Regions from separate parts of the Homo sapiens genome. Here regions 2 and 3 are each linked to region 1. Evidence: promoter capture Hi-C in 16 types of primary human blood cells and fetal thymus (Javierre and others, 2016). All regions are on one chromosome and are shown on one strand. The core of a region is centred on a gene start or on the middle of the fragment in contact, and the rest is flanking DNA. Distances in the headings are between cores, read along the strand shown.

The links. Contacts are between HindIII fragments. The CHiCAGO score rates a contact against its expected background, and 5 or more counts as called.
Region 2: a fragment that was not itself captured here is called in contact with the fragment with the promoter of TUBD1 in region 1 in 1 of 17 cell types (activated CD4 T cells); the score reaches 6.5 in activated CD4 T cells.
Region 3: a fragment that was not itself captured here is called in contact with the fragment with the promoter of TUBD1 in region 1 in 1 of 17 cell types (neutrophils); the score reaches 5.0 in neutrophils.

Annotation. Positions count from the first base shown.
Region 1 is chr17:59,890,868-59,894,813 of GRCh38, reverse strand. TUBD1 (tubulin delta 1) reads left to right here and starts at 1,871. Exons shown (of 9, transcript NM_016261.4): 1 at 1,871-2,117; 2 at 3,773-3,946. The coding sequence starts at 3,812. RPS6KB1 (ribosomal protein S6 kinase B1) reads right to left here and starts at 1,693. Exons shown (of 15, transcript NM_003161.4): 1 at 1,489-1,693. The coding sequence starts at 1,629. RefSeq lists a silencer at 1,276-1,475 and an enhancer at 1,666-1,945. The HindIII fragment of the contact is 20,828 bases long and covers 1-3,946 here.
Region 2 is chr17:59,546,569-59,550,740 of GRCh38, reverse strand. It overlaps LOC105371847 (a long non-coding RNA gene), which reads right to left. Exons shown (of 3, transcript XR_934889.2): 3 at 207-236. Among named protein-coding and RNA genes, the nearest start is that of DHX40, 17 kb to the left of the region's middle. The HindIII fragment of the contact is 1,723 bases long and covers 1,050-2,772 here.
Region 3 is chr17:59,526,348-59,530,532 of GRCh38, reverse strand. LINC01476 (long intergenic non-protein coding RNA 1476) reads left to right here and starts at 3,676. Exons shown (of 3, transcript NR_110813.1): 1 at 3,676-4,053. LOC105371847 (a long non-coding RNA gene) reads right to left here and starts at 742. Exons shown (of 3, transcript XR_934889.2): 1 at 457-742. The HindIII fragment of the contact is 4,739 bases long and covers 563-4,185 here.

The DNA of each region.
Region 1 (3,946 bases), core at 622-3,121:
GGCCAATATGGTGAAACCCTGTCTCTACTAAAAATACAAAAATTAGCCAGATGTGGTGGCGCATGCCTGTAATCCTAGCTACTTGGGAGGCTGAGCCATGACAATCGCTTAAACCCAGGAGGCTGAGATTGCAGTGAGCTGAGATCGCACCATTGCACTCCAGTCTGGGTGATAGAGTGAGACCCAACTCAAAACAAAACAAAAGAAACAAACAAGAAGAACAGTATTATTTTAGGCCACTTAGTTTCTTAAAGTGTTCAAAATTCTTTATATACATCATCTCAATCTTTTGTCAACAGTAGGGCAGGTGCCAGAGGAGAAAAACTGAGGGTGAGGCAAGGGAAAGGAAGCCCCTGTGTAATTAGAGCAAACATCTGACGTCATTAACCCATGTATTCAACTAGACATTGGAATTTAGATGCTAAACTACCAAGAGGTTATCAACTGATGATCATTTGGTCCAGGATCAGTGATTTAGTATGACAACATTTTTGAACTTCAGGTGCAATTTGTCATTTTTTGATAAATTTATCTAGGGAAAAAAAAAGTTATTCCATAAAGATTAACAAACCACTAAGCCAGCAGGGTGAAACCAAGCTATGCATTAGGAAATACAATTCTAAATTTAGCACCCTAAATTACAGCAAGGAAAGCCCTCATACCACCATTCACAAGTCTCTGTTCAGGCAACTTATTTCTGGCAAGCTAAATCAAGGCTGTCAACTGGTTTTTGGTTTTTTTTTCCACCTCAAAATTACATTAATTATTCTGAAAAAAATACAGACATCTTCAACTTGGGGAAAGGTTACAAGTGCCGTGTGTCCTTATAAATGCTTATTTTAAAAAGTCACACGGAAGGGGGTAAAAAAAAAAAAGCAAACAAACAAACCCTGGAAGATTGGAAGATGCAGCAGAGCCCCCTTGCTCCCGAAATAAAACTCCTGGTGGCTGTAACAGCAGCGGCAGTGCTACTCCCGACAGAAGTTTTCAGCTGTCACTTCTAACAGCTGAGCGCTTCCTAGGAGAGAAGCGACAGGCCGAGAAGAGAGGTGGTTGTGGGAGGTCTGAAGATTCAATACTTGAAATTCTAGACTCGAAGGGAAACCCTCCACACTTCGCCTGCACTTACGGGACACCCAGCAAGAGCAGCCCCCGTCTCCCCAACACACGCTCACGCCACCCGCTCCCCGCCACACTCAAGTCCAACAGCTCGAGGAATCGACCACGCGCCCGTTCTCTTTCCCTCTTCAGATCGCTCGGGGCTGCGCTGACCTGGGGCTAAGGGTGCGACCTGCACCTGCGAGCCCCGCAGAGGCCTCACACCTAGGGCCATGACCGCCCCGCCCGCTCCCCTGTCTCAGGCCGCGCGACCCTCAGCTCCTCAGGAGCCCCCCTGGGTCTCCACGCTCTAGGACACACCGCGCTTCCTGAGCCCGCGCCGCCGCCCCGGCCCTGTCACCTCGGGCCCCCGGGGACCCCGGGCCTCACCCCCTCCTCCAGCTCATCCTCAGAGCCCGCGTCCTCTGGCTGGTCCAGGTCTATGTCAAACACTCCTGCCATGTCCTCAGCTTCCCTGTCTCGGAAGTCCGGGGCTGGGTAAAAGCCGTCCCGCCTCCTTCGTCGCCTCATGGGCCCGGACCCGCCGCAGCCACCACAGCCGCTGCCGCCATCACCGGCTGCTTAGGCTCAGTGCGTCTGCGCCTAGGCCTTAGACTGGCTCCTAAAGTTCAGCGTAGGAGCATGCGTACAGGGTTCCGTGAAGCCAAACAGTGGGCAGTGGACATGCGCAGAACTATCGGCAGGATCCAGGCGCTGGCAGAAACATGCGCAAAACACCAGCCGAAGTCGCGCTTGGAGGACTAGAGCATGCGCATTGTCAGCTGGAGCGTTCGGTGGACAGTGAGCATGCGTACCATATCTGAAGTTCGTAAATTGAAATTGAACATGCGTAATTAATCTTTCTGAATAGGAAAAAATATATACACAACAAAACTCTCCGTTTATGGAACATGCGCATTTGTTCTCAGTAAGTTTTTCGTTTTGAAAGTGAGCATGCGCATGGTGAGTAGGTTGGTCCGAAGTTTGAACCGGACAGAAGCGCTGGTCGGCGTCTGGCGGTGAGTCGGGTTACGTGTGGAGAACTCCTGGGGCCCGTGGGGAACGGGGGACCTTTTGGCTTTGCTCTTTACTAGTTCTGTGGCCTTGGAAAAGTCAATAACCTTTCAGAGCCTCAGTTTCCTTATCTGTAAAATGAGGATAATAATAAACCTACTTTGCCGGTTTGACATTTTAAGCACAGAGTCTGTCTCACAACCCACGGCTCATTTCCAGTGCTGCATAGACCTGATGTGAAGTCTTTATCAAAACTTGTCTTTTCCTAGGTAAAAATAATGAGGAACTGCTCTAATGTTTCTTTTGCTTTCTTTCTTTTTCAAATGGAGACAGGGTCTCGCTGTGTTGCCCAGGCTGGTCTGGAATCCCTGGGCTCAGGTGATCCTCCCGCCTCGGCCTCCCAAAGTACTGGGATTACAGGCATGAGCCATTGCGCCCGGTTAATATTTCATCTGGTTTTCTTTCTCCAAGCTGCATCTTTCTTGCTGTCCTACCTGAGCTAAACACAAAATCTTTCTTACAGGTCTTACTAAAGTTACCAGGCTAGACTAGTGGAGAAAGCGTAAGCTATTATTTAGAAGAGAGAAAATTAATGTTAATTGAATGTACAATGTTGAGCACACTTCTGTGTTCTACATGTTCATGTGGTGTGAAGGGTGGTACTACTAATTTCTTCAATCAGCATTTGTTTTGTCTTGTTTTTATTTTTTTAATTTTAATTTTTTTTTTTTCTGGAGACAGGAGGATGTCACTTTGTCACCCAGGCTGGAGTGCGGTGGCAAGATCTTGGCTCACTGCAGCCTGGACCTCCCAGGCTCAGGGGATCCTCCCACCTCAGCCTCCCGAGTAGCTGGGACTGCAGGCGCACACCACCACGCCAAGCTAATGGTTGTATTTTTTGTACAAACAGGGTTTTGCCATGTTGACCAGGTCTGGAACAGCCAGGCTCACGTGATTCTCCCAACTCAGCCTCCCAAAATGCTGGGATTACAGGTGTGAGCCACGCACCCAGCCTCTTTTTTTCTTTTATCACTCCTCAACTGAGGAGAATGTTTTGTTTTAAACATATGTTTAGGAAAAAAGTGATTACAAATCAGATTTTGGAAACTATTGAGCTGTGTATGAATGGATTCAGGTACAGTAAATCACAAATCCCAAAACCATGTAGAGAGTATGAGAACTTCCTTGAATGACTAGCTCCTTAGACAACACAGCTGTTCTATCTCCAATATTATATACGTATGTGGCATTTTAAAATGACTTTTTGGGCCGGGCGTGGTGGCTCAAGCCTGTAATCCCAGCACTTTGGGAGGCTGAGGTAGGTGGAGGTGGATCACGAGGTCAAGAGTTCAAGACCAACCTGGCCAACATGGTGAAACCCCATCTCTACTAAGAATACAAAAATTAGCCAGGCGTGGTGGCACGTGCCTGTAATCCCAGCTACTCGGGAGGCTGAGGCAGGAGAATCGCTTGAACCTGGGAGGCGGAGGTTGCATTAAGCCGAGAACATGCCACTGCACTCTAGCCTGGGTGACAGAACAAGACTCCGTCTCAGGGGGGAAAAAAGACTTTTTATTGATGTATAATTAACATACATGGCATTTTATTTGTTCTTATTAGTAATGTAGTGGTTCTCAAAGCGTATTTTTTTCGATTACAGGTTGTTTTTAGAGGTAATACACCTAGTTTGTGGCTCAGCATGTCAATTGTAACAGTGCAACTTGGTCAGTGTGGCAATCAGATTGGTTTTGAAGTTTTTGATGCTTTGCTTAGTGACTCACACAGTTCCCAGGGACTCTGCTCTATGAGAGAGAATGAGGCATATCAAGCATCT
Region 2 (4,172 bases), core at 662-3,161, 340 kb after region 1:
CCAAGGCAGGAGGATTGCTTGAGGCCAGGAGTTAAGAGACCAGTCTGGGCAACATAGCAAGATCCAGCTCTACAAAAAAAAATTTTTTTTTTAATTAGTGCCATGTGGTGGTACATACCTGTGGTCCCAGCTACTCAGGAGGCTGAGGTGAGAGGACTGCTCAAGCCCAGGAAGTCAAGGCTGCAGTGAGCTGTGATTATGCTACTGCAGTCCAGTGTGGGTGACAGAGAGAGACCCTGTGTCAAAATAAAACAAAATAAAAGCAATAATAATAAATACTCAGGCCAGGCACGGTGGTTCACATCTGTAATCCCTATACTTTGGGAGGCTGAGGCGGGCAGATCACTTGAGGTCAGGAGTCCGAGACCAGCCTGGCCAACAAGGTGAAACCCTGTCCTACCAAAAATACAAAAATTAGCCGGGCATGGTGGCGTGCACCTGTAATCCCAGCTACTCGGGAGGCTGAGGCAGGAGAATTGCTTGAGCCCGGGAGGTAGAGGTTGCAGTGAGCTGAGATCACACCACTGCACTCCAGCCTGAGCAACAAGAGCGAGACTCCGTCTCAAAAATAAATAAATAAAAAATAAAACAAAAATAAAAATAAATAAATTAATACTCTAAGTTGAGAGGGTTTTTGAAAAGGTGAAACCAAATTACTATAATAACAGGAAGAATGGGAGGAATAAAGTTTCTCAGATTGTATACTGTTCAAAAGAGGCTGACAGTATCTTAGACCAAGTTGAGCCATGCATGTTACAAATTTAAGAGTAAACATTGATTCAGTAAAAGGAAGTGATATTGTTCTTATAAATAAAAAAAGCAAAAGTAAGTTCTTGTTAATTTTACCACTGTGAAGAAAATATACTTGGTAACTGTGAACTTGCCACCAAAGGTAAAGTATACAAGGAAAAATGGATAAAACAAACTTAAAAAAATTTTAAGCTTCTATGTAATTACAATGAGGAAAAGATTGATTTCAAAATTGTGTAAGCCTGTAAGAAAACAACATGCTTTGTTTACTGATACATTTTTCTATATCACATAAAGCTTTACGTTATAAACCTGAAACCCCACTTTTTTATCAGAGAAACTCCTTTTTAATCGATAATAAGTAAAGGTTAATTTTTTTAACATAACTTTCAAGTCAGTAAGGGTGAAAAATAAATCAGTAACTCAATAGAAGGTAGGAAAGTATAAAAAAAGTAAATACATGGTAGATAAAAAACATTAAATAAAAAACAATAGAAATAAATTACTTTTGCAACTTTTCTGATATAATAGAGAACTTATTTCTACTATGTAAATAACTTAGTCAGAGATATGTGAAGGAGTGAAGAATGTGCCATCCCAAAATATTCCGGATTGGTATAGTAATTATTTGAAATTGAAAACAGTTGAGAAATTGTAATTTCATGCAGCAAGAGATACAGATGCCTCTGGGAGGGGCACCCTCTGCATACCAGAGCGAGCAAACCCTTATCACCAGAGACTTAGAATTGGAGGCTGCAGGCCAGGCGGGGTGGCTCACGACTGTAATCCCAGCACTTTGGGAGGTACAGGCGGGCAGATTGCCTGAGGTCAGGAGTTCAAGACCAGCCTGGCCAACATGATGAAACCCCGTCTCTAAAATACAAAAATTAACCGGGCGTGGTGGTGGGCGCCTGTAGTCCCAGCTACTTGGAAGGCTAAGGCAGGAGAATCACTTGAACCTTGGAGGAGGATGTTACAGTGAGTGAGATCGCACCACTGCACTCCAGCCTGGGGTGCAGAGTGAGACTCCATTTCAAAAAAAAAAAAAAAAAAAGAATTGGAGGCTGCAATGGATCGAATAAATGTACTTGACGAAGTAACCCTTTTCTTCCACCTGTTTTACATCCTCCATACATGTCCGAGTGACTCCCCTAGAAAATTTACTGCCCCTGGCCAGATACTCTTTGTTCTGTCATTTCTTTTCAAATGTAACATTTTTTGTCTAAAAATACAAAAGCATCTTGCTTTGGCTACTTATTCAGACTTCATGCTCTTGTGAATACCCCCATGTACATGTAGAACTAATACAATTTGTTTGCTTTTCCCTTGTTAATCTGCCTGGTGTCAATTTGGTTTCTAGATCTAGCTGAAGAGGCCACTAAGAGCAAAAGGGGGTTGATCTCTGGCTCCCCTAAACATGCACTCTGGTATAGAGACAAATTTGATCCTGAGACCCCCACATAGATCTGAGGCCCTTCCTCTCCTTGCCACCCTAGGTCACAAATCCCTCTGTACAGCTAGACATTATTTTGAACAGAAGCAGAGGGAAGCAGGAAGAAATGTGAAAGATTCTGGATTTAACCAAAAGAAAATTTGTTATTCAAAAGTGACTATTTATTTATTTATTTATTTATATTTTTTGAGACAGGGTCTCAGTCACTCAGGCTGGAGTGCAGTGGCACAATCATAGCTCACTACAGCCTCAAACTCCTGGACTCAAGAAATCCTCCTGCTTTGGCCTCCTGAATAGCTGGGACTACAGGTATGCACTGCCACACCCAGCTAATTTTTAAATTTTTTCTAGAAACGGGGTCTCGCTATGTTTCCCAGGCTGGTCTTGAACTCCTGGCCTCAAGCCATTTTCCTTCCTTGGTCTCCCAAAGCACTGGGATTAAATAGAGAAGTAAGCCACCATGCAGGGCCAAAATAAACTATTTAAACTAAAAAAAGATTGTTGCCTGGAATGACAAGTTTAACGTTTGGTTGGTTTTTTTCCTCTTATTATAGAGCAAGGTGGAAGCTTGCAAGGAAAAATTAGGTCCATGATAGAAATTAAAAAGGAGTATTTTCTTTGCATGTATTGGAATTATAATGTGGGTAAATGTTTGACCCCACTATAAACATTTTTGTAGGATTATTTTTCCACACTGTGTTTTTTCTCCTGGTGTTAATATTTTTCTGCGATTTGCATGCATTACCCCTTTTTAAATTAATTGTAGTCCCCATTGCATTGACCAAGGCGCCACCAAAGCGCCTTGTCAGTCTGGAAATGGCAGGTGTAAAGCATAAAGCAAGGGGCAGAAAGGGTAAGAATAGACCCAGTTCTTTGCAATCACAAGAAAGTGCTCACCCAGCCATTCTGCCCTTTTTAATTTGTTCCTTTCCTCGGATCTAAATGCACTGACAATTAGGACTATAGAAAACCATATGCATCGTGACCATCATTACTCACCGCCCTGACCATTCCCCTGGGTAACACAGAACATTTAATAGGCCTGTCCCAGCATCTGATAACAAAGGAAAAACATATGGCAGATCACGATAATGATTTTGTGTCTTTCTGTAATGATGAAAGAAAAACCTGATCCTGCATAATAATCGCTTTGTTATTCATAGAAGTTAAACGGCATTTCCTCATGAATTTTAATGTGCCATCCATTTTCTCACTACTTATCCCCACAATTCTTTGTGAGCCTTTGCAGAACATTATTCTCTTATCTCTTTCTTTCTTACAGTGATGTAATTATTCTGTCTAAACCATAAGACTTCAGGATGTTGTCTTTTTACTGCATTGGTCACACAGTGCTGGTCTAGGTTGCCATAAATAATCTGAAAAGATCAAGCTGTGCACTTAGGATTTCTGCACTTTTGTTTCCTGTATGTATGTTACTTAATTTTAAAGAGTTTACTTTTTAAAAATTATCTGGAAATCCTGTAATCATAAATTTGTGCCTTTTAAAATAAATTATAATTAATTAGTGGCACTCATGAATCTTTTGTTTACTATTCTAAAAGTTCAGGAACCATTTACAATATTTTTTCTTCCTTATTCTTCTTTAGTGGGCATAATTCATATTGAAATTCAGTCCCATATTATGTGTAGACAGAGTAATCTCAAAATTACATACGACTAGACTAGATTTTTAGCTATTTAAGGACATAAACTGAGTCTTACTTATCTTTGTATTCTATGAAGTATCTATCTAGCTCAAGGACTTCTAAGTAGAAGGCCCTCATACCGGGCATGTAAAGGCGTGAGCCAGCACTTTGGGAGGCCGATGGGGGCGAATCACGAGGTCAGGAGATCGAGACCATCCTGGCTAGCACGGTGAAACCCTATCTCTACTAAAAAATACAAAAAATTAGCCAGGCGTGGTGGCGGGCGCCTGTAGTCCCAGCTGCTCAGGAGGCTGAGGCTGGAC
Region 3 (4,185 bases), core at 1,683-4,182, 370 kb after region 1:
GTGAATTTCCCTCCCTCCCTCCCTTCTCTCTCCCTCTTTCTTTCTTTCTTTGATGGACTCTCACTCTGTCGCCCAGGCTGGAGTTCAGTGATGATATCTTGGATCACTGCAACCTCTGACTCCCAGGTTAAAACAATTCTCCTGTCTCAGCCTCCCGAGTAGCTCAGACTACAGGTGCACCCCACCACACCTGGCTAATTTTTGTATTTTAAGTAGAGATGGGGTTTCACCATATTGGTCAGGCTGGTCTCGAACTACTGACCTCAGGTGATCCACCCACCTAGGCCTCCCAAAGTGCTGGGATTACAGATGTGAGCCACTGTGCCTGGCCAGATATGTGAATTTCTTGAAATACAGGGCTATATTAGTTGGGACTCTTCATTATAAGGACAAAAATTCAACTCAAAGTAGCTTAAGCAAAGCAAAAAAAAAAAAAAAAGTGGTTTATTGGCTCACCTACTGGGAAGGACAGGGTTGTATGTGTCATTATGACTTTCTGCCTCTTCTTTGTCATCTCTACTTGGCTTGGCTTCATTCCCTGATTACTTGGTGCCTTCAAGCTTTCTTCAGGGTGACTTTAAAGGTCGGGGAAGATAGCTCCAGTAGGCCCAGGCCTACATCATAGCCTAAGTACCTCAGCTTTTCTCTCCAAACATGTACACATCGAATCCTAGGGAAGATCTATGGATCAAATGGGTAAGAGTTAGTTCCCACATGGTAAGGGGCACTCAATTATCAAAATACGGGGACGAAAAGGGCTGGGCACTGTGGCTCACGCCTGTAATCCCAGCACTTTGGGAGGCCAAGACACGTGGATTATTTGAGGCCAGGAGTTCAAGACTAGCCTGGCCAACATGGTGAAACCCCATCTCTACTGAAAATACAAAATTAAGCCAAGCGTGTGGTGTGCGCCTGTAATCCCAGCTACTTGAGAGGCTGTGGCACAAGAATCAACCTGGGAGGCAGAGGTTGCAGTGAGCTGAGATCATGCCACTGCACTCCAGCCTGTGTGAGAGTGAGATTCTGTATCGAAAAAAAAAATGGTGATGGGGGGGTGGGGAGGAGGAAAAAGATGCTAAAGAGACAAAAATGACAAAATGTGGAATAATAAAGGAAGTTAAGTATAAATTGTCTTATGAGAGCAACACAAAAGATGTGTAAAAATTACACAATCCAGCTTGGCTTTACTCTCCCAGCATCCACTTAAAATACTCTGCCTAAAGAGTAATTTTTTTCATGAAATGAAACTCACGTTATTGAGAAAATGCAGCAGGATGGGAAATAATCTTGCTTTCCTCAGAGGTGTAGAGAAGGGCAAGAACTGGAAGAGAGTTCCTCCACCAAGGTAAAACAGGCATGGAAAGGGACAGCGATGGGCACAGGTGGGGTGGGGGGTAAATCTACCTTGGGCAGGTACAGCAAGAGACATTAGGTAACAGTCCAAGAAAAGTCAGTACCCACAGCCTGGGCAACATGGAGAAATCCTGTATCTACAAAAAATACAAAAACTAGCCGGGTGTGGTGGTGCAAGCCTGTGGTCCTAGCTACTCAGGAGGCTGAGGTGGGAGGATAACCTGAACCCAGGTAGGTCAAGGCTGCAGTGAGCTGAGATTGAGTCACTGCACTGCGGCCTGGGCAACAGAGCACGACTCTGGCAAAAAAAAAAAAAAAAGCCAGGATCAGTGGCTTATGCCTGTACGCCTGTATTCCCACCACTTTGGGAGGCCGAGGCAGGTGGATCCCCTGAGGTCAGGAGTTCGAGACCAGTCTGGCCAACATGGCAAAACCCCATCTCTACTAAAAATACAAAAATTAGCTGGGCATGGTGTTGCACGCCTGTAATCCCACCTACTCAGGAGGCTGAGGCAGGAGAATCGCTTGAACCTGGGAGGCAGAGGTTGCAGTGAACTGAGATCGCGCCACTGAACTCCAGCCTGGGTGACAGAGCAAGACACGGTCTCCAAAAAAAAGAAAAAGAAAAAGAAAAAAAAGAAAAGAAAAGAAAAAATAAAGAAAGAGGAAGGAAGGAAGAAAAGAAAAGTCAGTACCTGTCATCTCAATACAAAGAAGATGGAATGTCTCAGGTGGTAGATGTTAAGTGTTTCCCTGAATAGATCTCCAAATATGGAGAGTTATCTGTCAGATATTTAGGCTGAAGTTGTGGAGCACACCTTCTGTCCCTAGGTATGATAAGAATAGAGACTGATAAGAACAAGGCAGGCCTCCAGGTCTAAAGAAAGTGTGGTTCTCAGTAGGTTTCTAAGTCAGGGATCCAGGCACAGGGAACAGACAGGGATGTAGTTACAAAAACTGGTTACCAGAAAGCCTGGTTTTGGAGACAAGTAGGAAGTCCAGTTATTGGAGCATGTCAGAGCTAGCCTAGCAATGAGTATGACTTTGTGTGCCAAATCTCTGAATGACGGACATGAGTGCCCTCCTGGGGCTGAGATTTGTTTTAGGGGCTGGAAGGTTGGTATCTGTTGGGAGATGAAGGATATAGAAGTAAGGAGTTAGGCAGGTTCTGACAGACACAAGGAAAGATTTTACTATGCAAGTTGAATAGCATGTATTTTGATCAGCTCAATTCTGAAGCTATAAAGTACAATAAAGGAGATGTTTAAAAAATAAGAGGCCAGGTGTGATGGCTCACACCTGTAATCCCAGCACTTTGGGAGGCTGAGGTGGGTGGATCACTTGAGCCCGGGAGTTTGAGATCAGCCTAGGCAACACGGCGAAACCCCGTTTCTACCAAAAATACAAAAAAATTAGGCAGGCATGGTGGCGCATGCTTGTAGTCCCAGCTGCTCTGGAGGCTGAAGTGGGAGGATCGCTTGAGCCTGGGAGGCCAATGGTGCAGTGGGCTGTAATCATGCCACTGCACTCCAGCCTGGTCAACAAAGTGAGAACCTGTCTCAAAAAAAAAAAAAAAGTGGAAGAATCCACATCTAATTTGAAACACCCAGAGCTGTGGGAATATGATAACCAGAGCACAAGAGGTACAATATTGGGGCACTTAGATAAGGGTAATTTGTATTATTGATTTGTATTCATCTCTAAGATGTGCCTCTCACTGTGAAGTTCCATGGATAAAGATTTGGCTTCAGTTTCTGTCTGGAAACCTGGCACCATTTACTTACAAATTAAAAATACAAGTGAATCATTTACATATCTCCTAGAAACCAAAGAGTTTGTATGTTATACCTCAAGTAATTTGGATAATGCCGTGGGTTGTGTTTTTTTCTTTTTTTAAATTCTAATTAAGCCGTCCATCACTTCAAGGTGATAATTTTCTCAAGTATGCTCTTCTTAAAACGATTGCATTTTATTTAGTATCTTACAGCGTGAAGAATTTTGACTCCTAGGGAAAATCTCATGTAAGTGATCATCTGTTATCTTGAGGGGAGGAGGATGGGGAGGAGTCTTTTCTGATCCTCTTCTTTTGAAAGCTATCACCCTCCCACTCTATGGGATTTAGGTGGGTCTGTCAGATACATGGGTTTAAATCCAGAACCTGCTTGATTCCCAACTTCTGTATCCTTTCTCTCCCCACAGATACCAACCATCTGGCCCTAAAACAAATCTCATCAGTTTATGAACCAGGCAGCCCAATCACAGTGCCTAATTCTCCCTATCACACAATTGGTCAAGGAGGGAGCAAGTGACATAATCTAAATTCTTTCCAAAGATGGATGCAAATGCTGGGAAAGCAAGAGTTGAATTGCTAGCCATGAGGAAAACGTAAGCCTGAGCTGTTTGCTGGCCATCTTTGCTTCCACATGGGGATGGCCTGCCTGGAAATGAAGCCACACAGAGAAAACAGAAGAGCAGTGAAGAGAAGGGTAAAAGGAGAGATCCCATGACATGATTTGCACTCTTAGATCCAGTTATGCCTGATGCAGGACCCACCCCTTGGACTTCCCATTTCCAGGAGCTAAAACTAGACTGAGTTGAGTTTCTGTCACTGACAGTTGACAGAAAATATCAACAATCCAGCCACATGGAGCCTCATGGCAGTACCACTAACCCTGGTCACCACATGAATACTGACCAGAGGTAAGCATTATTCGTTTCTGCTTTGTTGGAGGAACATTTGAGAATCTATTTTGTGTTATGTAATCTTACTTTTTGCCTCCAATGTCTACTTGTTGCAATTGCATGCAATGAAGGAACACAAAATAGACTGAA